4 separate regions of the Homo sapiens genome follow, and all the other regions are linked to region 3. The links are contacts of gene promoters, found by promoter capture Hi-C in blood cells and fetal thymus (Javierre and others, 2016). All regions are on one chromosome and are shown on one strand. The core of a region is centred on a gene start or on the middle of the fragment in contact, and the rest is flanking DNA. Distances in the headings are between cores, read along the strand shown. Region 1 has its middle 110 kb from the start of CHD1. Region 2 overlaps SLCO4C1 (solute carrier organic anion transporter family member 4C1). Region 3 holds the start of FAM174A (family with sequence similarity 174 member A). Region 4 overlaps CHD1 (chromodomain helicase DNA binding protein 1).

Evidence for each region. The method cuts DNA at HindIII sites, captures the fragments that hold promoters and counts their contacts. A CHiCAGO score of 5 or more calls a contact.
Region 1: a contact is called between a fragment that was not itself captured here and the fragment with the promoter of FAM174A in region 3, in 1 of 17 cell types (non-activated CD4 T cells). The highest score is 6.8, in non-activated CD4 T cells.
Region 2: a contact is called between a fragment that was not itself captured here and the fragment with the promoter of FAM174A in region 3, in 1 of 17 cell types (monocytes). The highest score is 8.6, in monocytes.
Region 4: a contact is called between a fragment that was not itself captured here and the fragment with the promoter of FAM174A in region 3, in 2 of 17 cell types (non-activated CD4 T cells and fetal thymus). The highest score is 5.1, in non-activated CD4 T cells.

What each region holds. Positions count from the first base shown.
Region 1 is chr5:99,032,788-99,035,556 of GRCh38, forward strand. No RefSeq gene overlaps it. Among named protein-coding and RNA genes, the nearest start is that of CHD1, 110 kb to the left of the region's middle. RefSeq lists an enhancer at 637-696. The HindIII fragment of the contact is 912 bases long and covers 882-1,793 here.
Region 2 is chr5:102,284,085-102,287,124 of GRCh38, forward strand. The region is part of intron 2 of SLCO4C1 (solute carrier organic anion transporter family member 4C1); the gene reads right to left. Among named protein-coding and RNA genes, the nearest start is that of SLCO4C1, 11 kb to the right of the region's middle. The HindIII fragment of the contact is 870 bases long and covers 949-1,818 here.
Region 3 is chr5:100,533,621-100,536,643 of GRCh38, forward strand. FAM174A (family with sequence similarity 174 member A) reads left to right here and starts at 1,754. Exons shown (of 3, transcript NM_198507.3): 1 at 1,754-2,344. The coding sequence starts at 1,911. FAM174A-DT (FAM174A divergent transcript) reads right to left here and starts at 1,623. Exons shown (of 5, transcript NR_172939.1): 1 at 1,541-1,623; 2 at 460-532. RefSeq lists an enhancer at 1,713-2,012. The HindIII fragment of the contact is 3,135 bases long and covers 1,377-3,023 here.
Region 4 is chr5:98,919,362-98,922,398 of GRCh38, forward strand. All of the region lies in intron 2 of CHD1 (chromodomain helicase DNA binding protein 1), which reads right to left. Among named protein-coding and RNA genes, the nearest start is that of CHD1-DT, 7.7 kb to the right of the region's middle. The HindIII fragment of the contact is 2,275 bases long and covers 648-2,922 here.

The sequences.
Region 1 (2,769 bases), core at 88-2,587, 1.5 Mb before region 3:
GAGATTCAGATACAGGCTTCATGTTTAGACAAGACATCTGCTTTTCCTCACCATTTGTTTTTGGTAACTTTCTGGTCCTTATATGAACTATGCCTGCCCTTTGACCTCATGACCCCATATGCTTTGAGCCCTCCATTTTCTCCTAATCAATTAGTCTCCTTCTGTCTTCCCATTTTCCCTGTTCAGCTCCACACACTGGTGTCCACTACTTAAATTATGCTTTCAATATTACTTTCAACTCTTAATCCAGCCATCCTGTTTCTCTGACTCTGGAACTGAGCAGCTGAGAGTTCTTGGAGAAAAATCACACAGCCATACCAATTGATGTCACTGTATGTTGTTGCTTTCTGACCAAGGCTGAGTCCTCAGTTATGGTGAAGGTGCTTCTGATCAACTGACAGTGGGTATTCCAAACATTTACTTCCCTTACTGTCAAAACCACCAACTCTTCTTACACTCAGCAAATGATGATTCTGTCCTTTTCATTGTGAAAAGGCAAGGGCAGAAAGTGAAAACGGCACCTTCCTCTCCCTCTTACTTATTCGCTTATTTATTGGCATTTTTACTTCTCCTTCCTGTTGGAAAAGGTGCCCATCTAACTCGAGGCTCATTTCTCAACCTGTAGATTGGATTCCATCCTCTTCTGTGTACTCAATGACTTTATTATATCAATCATCGCCCTCTTTCCTGTTTTACTTCAGAAAATAAACAGAACAGTGGTTTGTCTTATTGAAAATGAAAGCAAAAGTAAAATTACCTTGGCAGTTTTGGGTCTCTAATTATAAGCCAAAGAAACAAATTGAGAACAACTTATGGAAAAAATGATATTCATTGGAAATATACTGGTATAATGCAGAACAGAAGAAAATACTAAACAGTCAAGCTTCCTGAGGGCAGAAAGTACAGGACCACTGAAATGAAACCGTGGACATGCATAATCATGTATGTTTACTAAGGTTCAACTACCTTTCCTCCTTGTGTCACCACTTAAGATTTAGCTCCTAGGAAGGAAACATTTGATTGGCCAAGCCCACCAGAAACATGTGCAGAGGAGATGCTCCTGATACCTGCACCATTGAATTCCATAAGGCACAGTTCAGGGAACTTTGCTTTGTCCTTATTTTGTTTGATTTATCGGTAGCAGTTCTCCTTCTGGAGTCCTTCTCCTTTGTTTTCTGTGGCATTATTCTTTCCTTAAAAAGAAAAAAGATAATTCTTTTTAGTCTCCATTGTAGGTTCCCTTTTTTTCTGCTTAAACAGTAAGTGTTATCTTCCTCATGGGTTCAACTTCGATCACTGTTATATTACAAACTTCCTCCTGCCAAATCTTCGTTTTGAGTTTGCGATGGAACCTACGATTGAATTTCCAATAAAATTCAGTATATCTAAAAGTGAACTTATGTATTTCAAACCTGCGCTTTACTTGAATGCCACATTTTCATAAATGGCATATCTCTTATCCAGTCACCCAATCCACTTCCCTGGGAGTCTTCCTAGGTCACTCTCACTTATACTCAATCAATCCCTAATCCCTGTGGCTTTTAATTCCTTGGTATCTCTTGTTCTCCTCTTTCCTAAACTCATAACCACTTTTTAAATTAAGGTCTTAATGACTTCTCACCTAAATTGCTACATTAGCCTCCTCAAAAGGTTTCCTTACACATCATACTCCGTTTCTTACAGAGTGATCCTTCTAAAATGCTAATCTGCTCTGCAAACTCAGATTCAGTCCTTTATCTTTCAGGATAAACTTCAAGGCTTAACCCACACATTCTGTCTTTGGCCACTTTCCAAGCTTCAGGGATGGCTACTTCCTTACTGCTATATTGTAAAACAAGCAGGTTTCCAGTTGGAGGGACTAGAATTGTTTTTTAACCTTGACTGAATGTAAGAATTTCTGGGGACATATTAAACATGCAGATTCTTGGCCTGACCCTAAACATATTAAATTGGAATCTCCAGGAGTGGGGCTTATGTCTCTACTGATTTTTTTTTTTTTTTTTGAGACAGAGTTTTGCTCTTGTTGCCCAGGCTGGAGTGCAGGGGCGTGATCTCAGCTCACTGCAACCTCCACCTCCTGGGTTCAAGTGATTCTCCTGTCTCAGCCTCCTGAGTAGCTGGGATTACAAGTGCCCGCCACCACGCCCGGCTAATTTTTTGTATTTTTAGTAGAGACAGAGTTTCATCATGTTGGCCAGGCTGGTATCAAACTCCTGACCTCAGGTGATCCACCCGCCTCGGCCTCCCAAAGTGCAAGGATTACAGGCGTGAGCCACTGTGCCTGGCAGTCTCTACTGATTTTTATGATCAAGCCAGTTTGTGAATTAATGATTGACTGTTTCTAGGCAGTCCTTTTACTTATGCTGTTTGTTCTGCAATTCCCAATCCCCTTGTCCTTCAATAGTTTAGTTAGTGTCACTTTACAGGTGACTCTCATTCTTACTTAGAGGCCTCTTCTCTGTGTTCCTGTACCGCGTAGGACTATCTCTGTCTTAGTACCCATCACATAATATTTGACTAACTTACCTATCTTATAACTGCTCTAAAAACTTATCTTTGTTTTCCCAGTACATAAAAGACAAACAGTAGGCATTTGGCAAAAATTACTTTGATATGTAAAAACAAATAAAAAGCTCACTACACTTTTTGCTGTTATGGATTCTTTCTGTTGCTTTATCTCTAAGGAGTTACTCATAAGATGAATATTGTTCAATTACTTAAAAACACCATTATTACTATGATTCCTTTAAAATCATATTATAGAATAAT
Region 2 (3,040 bases), core at 134-2,633, 1.8 Mb after region 3:
GTCCTAATTCGGTCGCCAGAAAAAAATATGATGAAGAAGAGAGAGAAAGAGAAAATTCTCTTTAAATGTTACCCTATTTTTTTAGCCCAAGTTTATGGAAAATGTGGACAGAGAATCCCAAATTGCCTTTATCTGCCATTACCTACTCTTACTGTCTTCTGTGGAAGGACAAGGCATTAGGCTCTTAATATACCTCATCAAAGGACTCCATTCATTAATATATGTGACAACTCAACAAATAGTTCTTAAGGACCTAGTCTATATCACATGCTGTTCTAGGTGCTGATCATAATAAAGTTTCTAAACTCAACAAGGGCTTTCAAATTCACATAGTTAAACCTAAAGCAGATAGAGCAGATTTTACCAAAGTGTGTTCACTGCCTCATTTACCTAGAGGAAGACAAAGTAAGGGGCGAAAGCAGGATGAAGGGGACAAGTATAACAACGGAGCCTCTTCATCAACTCTACATATCATACCCCTAACTAAAGATTCACAGAATGCATTTGCTTTATAGTGCTGCAATAAAGACAACTGCTTAGCGTTCTTCTTTTTTTTTTTTCCAAACTCATTCAACCATTGAACACATTTTTAACATATTCCTAATGCCTCTAGAAACTGTTCTCTGCAGATAGTACTTTCAGAAATGTTTGGACATGTTTTTCTCTTGCTAAAGGACATGGATTTTTTAAACCTCTACCTACCAGCAAACTATAGCTTGTAATGAGAATGAGTTTGTGCTAAAATTTCATTGACACATTTTTTTCCTACTTATTTTTCTCTGTAAGTTTCCTCTATTTCAGAAGTTTGGTCATTTGCATTTCAACAAAACTGGCTGCATTAGAGCACCTAGCATTTCATGATGATTGTGAAACTCCTATTTTAAAGGAAGACATAAAGCAATAATCTGGAAAGGAAAAGAAACCTTTCTCTCTATATCCACAGTTAGAAGCTTTACAAAGTAATCAGACACTAAAATGGACATGTATGTCCTAAATTAGACTAAGATAACCTGGGTAATTTTTTAAAAATATTGATTGAGTCCTACTCCAAACTTACTGAATCAGGATTTCCAAGAGGCAGTATTAAACAGGAATAGCAACCATCCAGGATAATTCATATATATACATACACACACACACACACACACACACACAAATATATACACACATATATACACACACACACACATATATATTTTTTTTTGTTTGTTTGTTTTTGAGACGAAGTCTCACACTGTTGCCCAGGCTGGAGTGCAGTGTCCCGATCTCAGCTCCCTGCAACCTCCGCCTCCTGGGTTCAAGTGATTCTCCTGCCTCAGCCTCCCAAGTATCTGGGATTACAGGTGCCTGCCACCATGCCCGGCTAATTTTTGTGTTTTTAGTAGGGACAGGGTTTCACCATGTTGGCCAGGCTGGTCTCAAACTCCTGGCCTCAAGTAATCCACCCACCTCAGCCTCCCAAAGTGCTGGGATTACAGGTGTGAGCCATTGAGCCTGGCTCAGGGTAATTCATATTATCTAGGAAGTATGAGAAAGACTGAAAAGCCTCTGATATAAAAAATTGTGATAGTTTTATCTAGAGCATTAACTATTGCTAAAAGGTAGCTCTAGGCCTTTTACTGTATGTATTAAATTTAAAATTGAATCATTTGTTTTATTACACCATTATAGCTTCTAATCTAAAAAAATCACCTCTTCTTATTACTCCTTTATTCATTTCAGTTACAAAGAAGTAAAATTTAAGAAAAATAAGTGACTTCCGTAAAGTAAAAAATAATATCAAAAAAGGAAAAACACTCAGAGGCCAAGCAAAATTAAAGCTTCCTGTATTGAATTTGTGCTTGAAAACCTCTAAAATTCTTTGCCCTAGGTCTTCTCAAATCTAGGCAAGCATTCCATTAAAGAAAAAAGTATTCTAAGAAAAAAAGATAAAATAGTAACCAGAAGTAAAGTCCACTTTGAGTCCTACTGTAATCATTTTCCTAGCACAGCTTTTGTAAGTAGTTACCAAGCATAACCAAAGTCCTTTGATGAAGCATTCTCTCTCAAATGCCAATAAAAAAAAAATTAGAAATTTAGTGCTACAGCTAATGTGAATTTTTATCATTTAAGGTTTCTTTGAGGGAAAGGAGATGGAAAAGAGAAACAAAGATATAGTGCAACGTAGGAAAAATTATCTAATTATTGGTCAATAAATAAAAAGAGCTTTACTAGGCTAAGTAACTACTTTTCTACAATTCCTCAGTATTTAATAATGCCTCTCTCCCAAAGTCTCAAAGAGACATAAAGATTATTTTGCATGGTAACATTAAAATAACACTCATCTAAAAGAAATTAAGATTGCTTAGATGAAAAAAATGTTACGTGGTAAAGATTTACTTATCGCATTTTAAATATTTTAAAGTCATACTACAATATGTTGTGTCATATTAATATTATGTTGAAGTAAGTCAAAATGAATGTCAAATATGACTTATTTAAAAGTGTTTTGACACTATGTTTGGGTTAACTTGTACAAAAAATTAGCCCTTAATAGCATGTATTTGTTCCTCTTAATTTTAATACTACCTCTTTTTTTAGTCCAGTAACAACCACAACTTCCCTTTGATCATCTCCATTCAAAGTTAATCACCTCTAATGCTTATGTCTTTCTAAAAGCTTCCCTTAAAAAAACACTTTCTCTCCAACCTACTTAAATTTATTGTTTACAACACAATAGAAAGTCCACGCTGTTTCAAAATATATCTTCTTAACTTTTGTTCTTAACGTTCTTTTGTGTTATTCTCACACCTGTAGAAATCATACATGTTTATCATATTTTATGTTTTTTTCTACTTACTAGCTATATTACTTTAGTTTCCTCTTACAGAGATTATCCCATCCAAAGTGAGCCCTGATTTTGATTTCCCTTAAGAACAACAGAAAAAGCACAGAAGGGTATGTTAATTTCCTCACTGTCCATCTTAAATTAAATTACATGTATAATTTCAATTAATAAAATCATTTATTAATATTATGCTCTATGTTATGTTAAGTTACT
Region 3 (3,023 bases), core at 504-3,003:
TTTGTATCAGGTTACTGCCACATTATTATATTCTCCTAATTAATACCATGATTTGATTCTAGCTTCTTAATCAACTATTGCTAGAATAATGTGGCATAATCAATAACCATAGAAATATCAGTGGCATACAGCAAATAAGCATTTATTTTTCACTTCTTTGGTCAAGCTGGGGTTGACTAACTTAAGCTAACCTTGGCTGCATTTGGTGCCAGGCTATAGGTTTAGTCATAGTTTACGCCAGATATCCCACAGTCTACTAGGATCAGAGGACTAGCTGGGTCATATTCTTTTCAAGGTTAGGGCCAGAACTTTCTGTGCAGAGAGGGCAGGCAAGTGAAAGGGGGAAAGGAATAATGAGAGAGGTAGGTGTGTGTATGCATGTGTGTGTGTTTCTGGCTCTCTCTCTGTATATATCTACCTGTATCTGTCTCTCTTTTAGCAATGAAAACAATAACTTACTCAAAAGACCCACGTATACCCTTGACAGGCATCTCATTGGTGAGAGGTACATCATGCGGCCACTTCTAGTTATCTGCACAAATTGAAGTTCCATATTACTGAAGTCAAACAGGCAAGGAAGACATTATTGAAGACTACTGCTGTTGGGAAAGGGGATAAAACTCTTCTAATCTCAACTCCTCTAAAAGAAAAAAAGGAGTGGAGAGTTATTAAGAGCTATTTTGGGAAGATCACCGGCCACCTGAGTTTGCTGATTGACTTTACCCAAAGGAAAAGTAAATTTTCTCCTCCATGACAGGAGGTGGTTTTACAACTTGAAGCGAGAAGCCTACAACAGTTAGGTTCCTTTCCTCTCACACAAAATAAGAGATGGCCCACTACCTTCCTTGCTGATTATATTTCAAAGGCATGATGGCTTTCCATACCCTTGAGATAGTTTTCAATTATATAACTGGCCAGAAGCTTTAAAAAATATTTACATCTGAAAAGGGAAGAGAAATAACTTACAATGGTAAAGTTTTCTAAAGTAATTTTTTTTAATATACTTTAAGTTCTAGGGTATATGTGCACAACGTGCAGGTTTGTTACATATGTATACATGTGCCATGTTGCTGTGCTGCACCCATTAACTCGTCATTTACATTAGGTATATCCCCTAATGCTATCCCTCCCCCCTACCCCACGACAGGCCCCGGTGTGTGATGTTCCCCATCCCGTGTCCAAGTGTTCTCATTGTTCAATTCCCACCTATGAGTGAGAACATGCAGTGTTTGGTTTTCTGTCCTTCTAATAGTTTGCTCAGAATGATGGTTTCCAGCTTCATCCATGTGCCTACAAAGGACATGAACTCATTACAAGCAAATGCTCTTTAGAAAGGGAGGTCAGGGACCCATAGGCAGGAAAAAAAGCCTGCTTAAAGCTTGTAATGAAGCTAAGGAAAACTAAGCCCTTCTGGCTTACAGATTAAATGTGTTATTGCAGTTTGACACCAATGAATTCAGATTATGAGTTTCCAATCTCTCAGGGTTCCTGCATGAGAGAGTTGCTGTACATTTTACACAATCTCTTTTTGTCTACTTACTTTCTTAATACGCATCCTTGACCGCTCCTCACTAACAGTGAAAAGAACAATGCTTCCAAAACGGTCACGTCCTCGCTTTTTACACAAGTGCGCGTGCGCACTGGGCGCTAGGCCTCTGACGTCACCAAGTGCATCCGCCCCTACAAGTTAGCAACCGAAGGCGTCCTTAGCAGCAGTGGCCGCTGAGATGTACGAACTTCCGGTTCTCCGGGCAGCTGCCACTGCTGTAGCTTCTGCCACCTGCCACGACCGGGCCTCTCCCTGGCGTTTGGTCACCTCTGCTTCATTCTCCACCGCGCCTATGGTCCCTCTTGGAGCCAGCGTGGCGGGCCTGGCGGCTCCCGGGTGGTGAGAGAGCGGTCCGGGAACGATGAAGGCCTCGCAGTGCTGCTGCTGTCTCAGCCACCTCTTGGCTTCCGTCCTCCTCCTGCTGTTGCTGCCTGAACTAAGCGGGCCCCTGGCAGTCCTGCTGCAGGCAGCCGAGGCCGCGCCAGGTCTTGGGCCTCCTGACCCTAGACCACGGACATTACCGCCGCTGCCACCGGGCCCTACCCCTGCCCAGCAGCCGGGCCGTGGTCTGGCTGAAGCTGCGGGGCCGCGGGGCTCCGAGGGAGGCAATGGCAGCAACCCTGTGGCCGGGCTTGAGACGGACGATCACGGAGGGAAGGCCGGGGAAGGCTCGGTGGGTGGCGGCCTTGCTGTGAGCCCCAACCCTGGCGACAAGCCCATGACCCAGCGGGCCCTGACCGTGTTGATGGTGGTGAGCGGCGCGGTGCTGGTGTACTTCGTGGTCAGGACGGTCAGGTGAGGCAAAGCCTCGGTGGGGCACCCCCGTGGGCCTGAGATACGCAGGCCGGTGATCTCCAGCAAGGCTGACTTCTGTGACCCTTTCCCCCTTCCCCAGCATCAGGGACTCCTGCTTAAGAATATGATATTGACTTTCTTAAAGGCCTGTTACCTTTGGAGCAATTTAAACCTATAACTAATTGCTGCCTTTTGTTTATAAATGAGTGCCCTACCTCCAAATCTCTTCATCTGACCTACAACCCACGTCAGCCTCAAAGGGCACCCTTTCTCTGAAGTGAGGATAATCTTTATTCCCTAGAATTTTGACTACTCTGTCTTGTAATACTTCTACCTTTCTAGTCTAAATTTTTGTATACCTAACTGGTCAAAATTTTGCCAATCAGAATGCAAACTCTTTAAAGACAGGATATCTATTTAGTAGGTTTGTGAGTCTTACAAATTATTTGTACAATGCTGCCACTTAATAGGAAATCAATATATATTTGAGTGGATTAATAGTAATATAGAGGTGCCTTATGGATATTTTATTTTTATAAAATTCAGGAGAAGAAAAGTTCTTCCTTACTATCAGTGTTTCCTAGTATTGCCCTTTAATCTGCCACCTAAGTGGCAGAGAATCACCTTCCTGAAGAGTTGACATACAGAGCCAAGACCTCACCATTAGGAGAAGCCAGCA
Region 4 (3,037 bases), core at 535-3,034, 1.6 Mb before region 3:
AATCTAATTTTATTATAAATTTATCACATAATTACACTCAAAGGGGTGAGAGAAAAATGAACTTGACCAACATCAGAAAACAGTGTTTTGACTAGAAACTTAAAGGCTAAATATTAAAGTGTACTGTATGTAAACACCGTATTTTAGTTGCGAAATTAGTTTCTCTTGATAAAGTATATCCTAAAAATTCTAAAACTGCTTTACATGTATATTATGAGTGAATATATAAGCAGATAAATGGTGGATGGTCAGAGCCAGGTTTCTCAATGTTGAGTAAGGAAGTTACAAAGCAATAAGAAAGAAAGGTTAGAATGAACCCTATAGCACAGGATTAGAGTTGGAGCCATCGGTATGAACTCACGTTTATGTATGAGATAATATGTATACAGACGTAAGGATACAGAAATGACTATAGATACGTAGGTATACATAATATATCTACATATATTACCTAGCTCTGTCTACTTTGTTCACTGAGAGGAAATAAAAGCAGTGACACTTGAATATCAACAAGCACACCCAGTACCCAAATCTTGGTTTCTAATGCCATTCTCCAAAAAAATGGAACCAAGGCTCCTTGGAGAGTGGCTGATTCTAGGGTAAAAGTAAGGCAGTGTGTAAAAGAAACATACGAGCCAACCTAAAAAAGCTTCCAAGAGCCAAGGCTAGATCAATTTAAGTAACAAAAAAGTCAACTATTATACAATAGATACATAAAATACCTATTATACATAAATATATACAAATATATATTTTATAGAGTTGTAATCCACTAAGCTGGATTACAACTCAAAGCACATACATAAATCCATACATATATAAACGATTTAGAAATTTCCTTACAGAAATTCCATTTAATATATGTAAATACTCCCCCCACCAGGAGATGGAATTTAATTCCTATCCCAACCCTCTTGAAAGTAGGCTAGACAAAATGACTTGCTTCCAAAGAATATATTATGGAAAGGGAAAAACAGTAACTTTACAGTAGAGAAACTTGCAAATACTACCTTGACCAAGTGAGAGGTTAACACCACCAGTAATGTCATGAGGATAACATGTTTCCCATATGATGTGACTAGCACACTTTATCTTTGTGGTATTCTTTCTAAAAACCAATAACCCTAGTTTATCCTAAGAACAATAGACAAGGCCAGGTGTGGTGGCTCACACACCTGTAATCCCAACACTCTGGGAGGCCAAGGTGGGTGGATTACCTGAGGTCAAGAGTTCAAGATCAGCCTGACCAACACAGAGAAACCCTGTCTCTACTAAAAATACAAAAATTAGCCAGGCATGGTGGTGCACACCTGTAGTCCCAGTCACTCGGGAGGCTGTGGCAGGAGAATCGTTTGAACCCAGGAGGCGGAGGTTGCAGTGAGGTGAGATCGTGCCATTGCACTCCAGCCTGGGCAACAGAGCAAGACGCCGTCTCAAAAAAAAAAAAAAAAAGACAAATCTAGATTTCAAAAACATTCTACAGGATACCTGGCCAGTATTTCTCAAGATGGTTTAGACCATGAAAACTAAGGAAAGACTTAGAAACTCTCACAGATGAAAGGAGACTGGGGAGACGTGACAACTAAATGCAATGTGGCACTCTGGATTTAATCCTACAACAGAAAAGAGGGAGTTAATGGAAAAATCAATGAAATCCAAGTATAGAGTTTAGGTAATAGTTTTTTAAAAAAGAATAAAAAAATAAATAAAATGGCTATAAATCTTGTTTCCCCATCTGGAAAGTGGGAATCATAACAATGTATACATCACAGAAGTTTTGTGAGGATGAACTGTGACAATTCAAGTAATGCACAATGCCCTATGTGCATCATGCTAGGTTAAGGCACAGCAAGAGCTCAACAATCATCAGTTGCCATTGTTACTGCTTCCGGAGAAACGAAACTTACCTAGCCTCTTGCTAGTCCTGCTCAAGACACAATTAATTGGAGGTTCGCAGAGAATGAAAACCATGTATAACAACATCAATAACAAAGTGGCAAGATGCTATGACTCCAGATGAATAGCTTCATATAAATGTATATGAACTTAATACATAAGAATCACTTAGAATCTTGTTAAAATGAAGATTCTGATTCAGTACGTCTGGGGCGAGGCACAAGGTTCTACAGTTATAATAAGCTCCCAAATGATGCCAACACCGCTGGTCCACGGACCACAACTGGTGCAACTTTTCTATTTCTGTAGTTTTAAATATTTCCCATTTTAAAAAAAGGTTAAACATTTTCTCCATTCATCATAAAGTAATACTCATTTTAAAACACAAAACTGCACCATATATAACCAATCAGTCATCAAGATCTTAAACAAGCAGCTACTTAAGCAGAGTAAAAGGGGTAACATCACATTAATGTTTGCCCACACATTATGACTACATACAGAAAAGTAATCTTTGAAAGGTAACTCATACACCATTCTGATCTTTAACCATATAGCCATTCCTGAAGTAAATCATCACTCAAGATAACTTATTTAAAACTAAAAAAAGTCAGCCAGGCGCAGTGGCTCATGCCTGTAATCCCAGCACTTTGGGAGGCCGAGGTGGGTGGATCACAAGGTCAGGAGTTCAAGACCACCAGCCTGGCCAACATGGTGAAATCCCATCTTTACTAAAAATACAAAAATTAGCGGGGCATGGTGGCGGGCACCTATAATCCCAGCTACTCAGGAGGCAGAGGCAGAAAACTGCCAGAACACAGGAGACGGAGGCTGCAGTGAGCCAAGATCGTGCTACTGCACTCCAGCCTGGGCAACAGTGAGACTCCATCTCAATTAAAAAAAAACAAACCACACACACACTAAAAAAAAGTCTACCAGGATTTGAAAAATTTGCTTGCAAATACCACCACAAATCCACACAGCTGCAAATTGATGCTTTGAAATCTTCCAGCATTATCTTTAAAAAGCTTAACTTCAGTTACATAAAACTTTGTGTTGAGCTGTAACTGTTATACAGGTGCATCCTGGCCCACATTTCTTAGTAACTAAATTTCAAGACTGTCAGCAATAGCATAGCAAA